2 separate regions of the Homo sapiens genome follow, and region 2 is linked to region 1. The links are contacts of gene promoters, found by promoter capture Hi-C in blood cells and fetal thymus (Javierre and others, 2016). All regions are on one chromosome and are shown on one strand. The core of a region is centred on a gene start or on the middle of the fragment in contact, and the rest is flanking DNA. Distances in the headings are between cores, read along the strand shown.

Evidence for each region. The method cuts DNA at HindIII sites, captures the fragments that hold promoters and counts their contacts. A CHiCAGO score of 5 or more calls a contact.
Region 2: a contact is called between a fragment that was not itself captured here and the fragment with the promoter of CFAP161 in region 1, in 1 of 17 cell types (naive CD4 T cells). The highest score is 5.0, in naive CD4 T cells.

Annotation. Positions count from the first base shown.
Region 1 is chr15:81,132,275-81,135,973 of GRCh38, reverse strand. CFAP161 (cilia and flagella associated protein 161) reads right to left here and starts at 1,704. Exons shown (of 7, transcript NM_173528.4): 1 at 1,576-1,704; 2 at 615-704. The coding sequence starts at 1,644. The HindIII fragment of the contact is 5,504 bases long and covers 1-1,932 here.
Region 2 is chr15:81,397,079-81,400,777 of GRCh38, reverse strand. All of the region lies in intron 6 of TMC3-AS1 (TMC3 antisense RNA 1), which reads right to left. Among named protein-coding and RNA genes, the nearest start is that of TMC3, 25 kb to the right of the region's middle. The HindIII fragment of the contact is 518 bases long and covers 1,294-1,811 here.

The DNA.
Region 1 (3,699 bases), core at 455-2,954:
TGTGCATGTGTCTTTATAGCAGCATGTTTTATAATCCTTTGGGTATATACCCAGTAATGGGATGTCTGGGTCAAATGGTATTTCTAGTTCTAGATCCCTGAGGAATTGCCACACTGACTTCCACAATGGTTGAACTAGTTTACAGTCCCACCAACTGCGGCACTATTCACAATAGCAAAGACTTGGAACCAACCTAAATGTCCAACAACGATAGACTGGATTAAGAAAATGTGGCACATATACACCATGGAATACTATGCAGCCATAAAAAATGATGAGTTCATGTCCTTTGTAGGGACATGGATGAAGCTGGAAACCATCATTCTGAGCAAACTATCGCAGGGACAGAAAACCAAACACCGCATATTCTCACTCATAGGTGGGAATTGAACAATGGAGAACACATGGACACAGGAAGGGGAACATCGCACACTGGGGCCTGTTGTGGGGTGGGGGGAGGGGAGAGGGATAGCATTAGGAGATATACCTAATGTTAAATGACGAGTTAATGGGTGCAGCACACCAACATAGCATATGTATACATATGTAACAAACCTGCACGTTGTGCACATGTACCCTAAAACTTAAAGTGTAATAAAAAAAAAAAAAGTTACCGGTCTCAAGAGATTCTGTTTTAGTCTTCTACTTCTCTGTATGAGAAGTTTCCCCTTGTCTCTCTTCTCTAAGAAGTCTTTCATGAGCTCCTAAACAGAAAATCAACAAAAGTAGCCCTGAATAATATAGATGTTAGTATTAATAACTTTTAGGTCAGAAGCTCTTCCAAGTTGAAAAAGCAAAATTTGAGTACAAAAAAAGAGATGTGAGCATAATTGGAATGATGGAACGTTTTTAGCACTACTTTAATATTTTTACTACATTATAGAATGTTTAGAAAAATGAGAAAGGCAAAACAAAGAAAAAGAAACATCACCAGTAATTACTCCAGCCAGATACCATCCTAAATGACATTTGGAGGCCATGTCTCCCCTGCTGGGGTTTCCCTTGACCGTATGATGACTGACACTAGAAAGTTCACCCCTCCCCAATCTGACCCGTATACGAATGGCTCAAAGCCTTGTTAAGACCACCCTTGGGAGAATACGAGGCAGTGAGTGAGTACAACGTCAATAAAAGGAATACTCAGGGTCATTTAAGAGGGCAAGCGTGGCAGGGTTGGAGTGGGGAGGGATATTATTTCTACCTAGAACCTGTGTCCTCACCTGGCCCGCAGCCTGAGACTGTAAGACTCTAAGGAATACGGGGGACTTAGTGGGGCTCTAGACTAAGCGGGAGACACAGGCCAGGGGCTTGAGAGTCAAGGCATCTGACTTTGGGAGGCCAAGGGACCCAGAGAAAGAAAAGTCAGGGTGCTCGGAGTAGAGGTCAGTGAGACCTGGGTTTGCAGTTCGGCAGGTGAGATTCCTTGGGAGTTTAGAGAAGTGGGGGATTTTAGAGGTATTCGCTGTATGCTGGGAGAGAGAGGAGGCTTGAGGCGCTCAAAGTAGGAGACTGAACTTAGAGCAGGGTCTGGGAGTTCCTGAGCTGCGGGTCTGCGCCTGGCCACACCCTGCGTACCTCCTCCAGGTAGACATCCTCATTCCAGTTGCCTATCCGGACTCCCGGACCATACACGTTCTGCGCCATCGCTCCCTGCTGTTCAGCAAGTGGGCCTCCCTCCGACACCATGCGTTAGCGTGGCGCGTCGCCATGACGACCCGGCCCCAGGCGATTGGTCAAGGTCTGGGACCCTGCTGGCCAATAAGCGACAGCGCGCACCCTCGCCCTGGGGCGGGAGATGGGGCGTCTGGGTCAGCGGCTGTCTGTGGCCCTCCAGCCCGCCCCACTTCCACCTCTTAGATTTCCTTAACTGCAGGGTGGGCGAGAGGGAAAACCCTGGCTGACAAAGTGCTTCCGAGAGAGAAATTTAAAGCTTTCTTTCTATTAGAATCTAACCGAAAAGTGCTATCGAGTACCCCTTGCTTGTCGAGGCAACAAAGAGGAGCTTTTAAATGGAAGCACGGCTTGCTTGCAGCCTATTTTTTGTAATCAGCAGCAGCAGCAGCAGCAGCAGCAGCAGCAATTTCGCCCTAATCATAAAACAATACCTGCTCAATGTACACATTTGGAAACCAAAATCGCATAGAAAGAAGAAAGGAAAATTAATAATTTCAGGGCCTTAAAAGTAAGAAATATACCATGTTAGTATATTTCTGTTTATAGGTTTCTGAGGTTGTCCATATTTTTGCGGACTTGACAGCATCCTCCCTCCCTCCCTCCCTTGCTCCCTCCTTCCCTGGGTCTCAAAGTTAAAGGACGAACCTGTGATTTGCAGGAACTCTTAAGAAAACCAGACTCTGCTGTAGCCAGCATTAATAAAACAAAATATTATTTTCTGGGGAGGGGAGGGATACCAGTTACTGTAGGACTACCGGAGGCTTGATGCAGATTGAATGCATTCAGTAATTTACCTCTATTTAGTGTCTAGTAAGACATGACTGAAATGGAAGACAGGAGCCTCCGCTCCCTTCAGCAAACCCAGTCTAAAAGAAAAGATAGTTCATGAAAACGAATTACTTAAGGAAGACTGTGGAAAAATGCAATTAAAGATGTGCTGATGGGCTGGCGTGGTGGCTCAAGCCTATAATCCAGCACTTTGGGAAGCCGAGGCAGGAGGATCACTTGAGCCCAGGAGTTCTAGACCAGCCTGGGCAACATAGTGAGACCCCATCTCCAATTTAAAAAAAAATACATATATATATATATATATATATATATATATATATATATATATATATATGCTGATGAAGGGCCATGGAGTTGAAGGATCCTTTCTGTCTTGAGGAACTGTGAGAATGGGAATTGGATGGCCTTTGAGTGATGGGAGAGGGGCTGCTTTGGAGCTGAACTGGGAAGGATTTGAACTGGCAGGCTGAAGTGTAGAATAAAAATAGGAACATTCCCACATTCTGATGAATCCACCAGCTCTGTCAATATATCACCACATTCGAGGATACTTCTGAAGGACACATAGGACAAAGCAGTTAGATCAGATAGTATACCACTAACTGCATTTGATAAATTCAGAAACTGAGACTCAAAGAAGCTAGCAGTCTAAATTCAAACTGCTAAAAGTTGCTCAAAGAAAGGACTCAGTCCAAACTTTCCGACTCCAAAGTCATGTTTGTTTGTTTTTCCTTTTAAGTATTTTTCATATTCCTCATAAAATCAAGAATAAAACAAAGCAGCTCTAGTCTCTACATTTTTAACAAGGTTCTAATGATTGGGTCATTCAGTAAGTCCTTACACTGATACAGCTTTGCTCCCACCTACTTCCTTAGTGCTATTTTTGACAAGTATATTACATTTCTATATATAATAGACCCAATAATACAATTATACATAGTGTTTTATACAATTGCTTTAAATCACTCAGGAGAAGAAATATCTTTATTGGTGCTCTATGGTATTTTTCTATGAACACAAATTACTGCTTTGTGTTGTTTTCAACCTGAATAACTTCCTTCCATATTTCTTATAAATCAGGTCTGCTAGCAACACATTCTCTTGGTTTTTGCTTACCTTAATAAGATGCTTTTTCTGGATACATGATTCTTTGTTGATAGCGTTTTTTTCTTTCTTTCAATATTTTAAATATGCCATCCTACTACCTCTGGACTCCCTTATTTCTTTTTCTTCCAA
Region 2 (3,699 bases), core at 303-2,802, 260 kb before region 1:
CAGAATGAAATACCTTAATTAATTTATCGTCCAGCCTCTGATCCCACGTACAAGATGAAGAACCTGAGTTCCAGAGAGATCACAGAATTAGTTTTCAAAGGAGTCAAATCTAGAAGTTTGTTTCCTAATTCCCATTCTGATGTTCTTCAGCAAGCATCACTTTTGCTTCCTATGTCTTTTTCTGATATGCTATTTCTCTTATTTTCTGAGAATTACACTTACTCATGTAAAGGGTTTTTTTTTTTGTTTTCTTCTCTCCCTGTTGCTATGTTTCAGGCAGATAACTTATTTAAAATCATTTCACATTGCTGTCTACATTGGCCTACGCATTGCTAACCTCAGGAGAAAACTCAATTCAAACTAAATAATATCCACCTGTAGCTACCACAAAATGTTCAGCTGGGGCCTTGGGGTGTTTGGGTGAATCAAACATGGTCTTCACCTTCCAGGAGCTCTAAGTTAAATGGATGAGGAAGAGAAGCAAATGAGATGATTGCCTTAAGAGAGGTATACTACTCTTTCTATTAGCAGAGAAGAGGAGGGTATCCCATCCAACTGGAAACCGGAGATCCTTGGGAAGGAGATGACGTTTAGGATAGACCATGAAGGTCAGATGAGATAGTATAAGCCATAAATAGGGTAAAGGAGTATGTAGATGACAGACAGCTTGGACAAATTATGCAGCCAGGAAAGGAAGCAGAAATTTGGGAAGTAGGAATTCTGTTAATCAGGATATGCTCTGTTCTGCAGTTGTAACAGATTACTCCAAATGGTCAGTGGCTTAACAAAGGCTTATTTGTTACACATGGTCATGTCTAACAAGTGTCGGCAGAGCTTTATTCCATACAGTCACTCAGGGACCCAGGCTGAGTAGGAACCATCATCCTGAAACTCCATTATCTGGCTCACACAACTTAAGTTGCCATAGTAGAGGAAAGAAAACTAAAATATTGTTCATAAATTTTTCACTGCTTCTGTCAGAAGGGGCATGTATCACTCGCACACATATATTATTGGCCAGAACTTGTCGCATGGCTCTAACTCAACACAAGCCTGGACTATTTGGTGCATGTTACTTTCTCTGCCACAAGAGTATTCCAAAATTGACTGTAATTCAGAATATTTATAAGGCAGGAGCTTGGATCTTAACGTAGAAAGCCTTTCAAGTTTTGGTGAAAGGCTAACAATTTGCCCCAACTCTGAGAGTATCAGAACTCTGTTTTAATATAAAGAACATTACATGTTTACCAATGAGCCAAGCTTTCCCAAAAGTCAAGTAGAGGGAGCAAAGCTTTGCTATTACTGTGCATAAGATTTTTTATTAATTCTGCAAAGGGGCCACTGGCAAGAACAGATTCTAAGGACCTCTCGTAGCTCCAGGCTACATCAAGGCAATCAGATCTGGGAGTTGCCAGTGTCAATATAACAAAGGAAATACATTCCTGGGCATGGTGATAGAGAGTGGGAGGTAGATTCACAGATATCTTCCAGTGTTTCACGTCTGAGAACCTTCCAAAATAGTTGTCTTTCTCCTACTTTGACATCTAATGAAGAAAAGCATTCAGATGATCACCACAACTTTAAGAGAGTCACCCTTGATTTGTGTGATAATGTGAAACTTACTAAGCAGCTGAAGGAATTGGGTAATTCTGTGTTACGACACTGGAGCCGTAAATCCGACCAACCCCATTAAATACTTAGGAGTCTGTTTACTATCTGTCTCTATTTATTACCTGGCTTCCCCCCATGACATTGCAGAGAAATAAAGTGCAAACAAGAACTACACCAGAAGAAGGCAGGTACAGAAAGCTTTGTTACCTCCTACTGAAATGAACTAAATTTGTTTGCAGGCCAAACTGTGCTAGAAAACTTTTGAAAGCATTGCAGTTTGACTAAGGAAAAGGTCTGAAGTCTTTCCAACTGTCCCAAGATATTTCTCAAATTATCGCTAATGGAATCAGATTATTTGGGAAATATTAATCTATGCATATTCAGACTCAGATACTGAGCTAAGGAATTCAAATAGTTAGTATTCCTACATGGATTTGGTTAGTGATAAGGTACAGATCCAGGCATGTTCTGGGTGTCACATTGCCCAGGTCATGCCAGGGCTATGGAGAGGACAAACAGGTGTCTGGAAAGGGACATATTTCTCAGGCGGACAGGAGCCTAGTTAGAGCAGGGCTGGCTAAACAGTATAAACCAAAGGCGGGCCAAACTCATTCAGGAGTTTGGCATAGACTTGGAGAAATTCAAACCAAGTAGTTCCTTATAGGACAAAGGTGGCAGCATCATTCAGTCTCTTTAACAAGGTAACAAGGTTACTCAACACCTCCTCATTGTTGGGAAGGATGGGGTAGGGGTAAAGGGCTGAGTAGTAGGGCCAACATGCAGGAAAATGACGAGAGCATAACTTTTCTTTCTGGTCTTGAAGGTAACGTCTTCACAGGATGGGATTCCCTGAAAGCTGCCATTATTATCTCCAGGTTTCCCTCCTATCCATCCATTGCTGCTGAGTAGGGCAACGCCTGGGACCAGTTAATTATCACAGGAGAAGATCTTTCCAAATCAGGGATTGTAAAGGTGGAGGGGAAAATTCTCCCTTCAGTATTCTAAGATGAATCTCTTCAAGCCCAAGATGGCAGCAGTTGTCTTCTTAGTGCAGCCTTGCTCAATTCACTTATCACTGGGTCTCGGAGTCTCAAAAGTAAAAAAGGGCTGTGCACATTACACACACACACGCGCGCGCACATACACACACTCTTTAGCATCATATAATGTCATCACTGGTATCCTGGAGTCTTTACTGCTTACCTGTACCCTCTTTCCTCCACAAGGTCAATGAAACATCAATCATCCAATGCAGAACCAGAAAAGAAAGGCTGCAGGTACTTGACGGTTACATTGAAAAGCTGAATGGCAGGAAGATGGGCAACTGGTTTAAGTTTAAGATAGAGAGTTGAGATGTCCTGCCTTTAGATATCAGGAGCTGGGGAGATTATAGAAGGAAGGGACAAGGTAGATAATAGACAATAAGAACCAAAGATCTGCAGCAATGAAGGGAGCAGGCATCATGAGTCACCATCATCTTAGAGTCCAATTGTATTTCTTTTTGCCATCATGGGGAAACCAAAAGTAGAAAGTGGTCACCACTGTTTTTAAATTGTCCAGAGAAAATAACATTTTTCTGTGCTGTGATAATTCACTCAAGCCTCCATCCAACCCAGACCATGCGGACATCCTCCATTCTGTGGTCCAGGATACATTTCAGCTCTGCCAGAAACACAGGATGGTCCCTGACCTCCTACAGAATTGTGAGTCTTTGAAGGAAAGACTTTCCTCCAAGGAAATAATTATGGAACAGGTAGAATTTATGGGGCGCATGGAGAACCCTGTAGATGTCTACTAAATATGTTGCATATATCGGTGAATTTCATATCTGTAACAGGACAAGAACTATCCTGCCCAACTATATAAGGTTGTTGTGAAGTTCACATGTGCTGTATATGATTGTCTGGATGTATCATATGCCTGTTCATTTTCTCCAGGTTACATCTTTCTGTGAGATCTAGGAATTGGTGCAGACAGGAAGGTAGAGAAAGGAAGAATAATAATAGTCTATCTGTTCTGCCTTTTTCCTTTCCTTTCCATCTTCAACACATTCTGTCTCTATTTTTCTTTATCTCTGTCTCTTTGTCT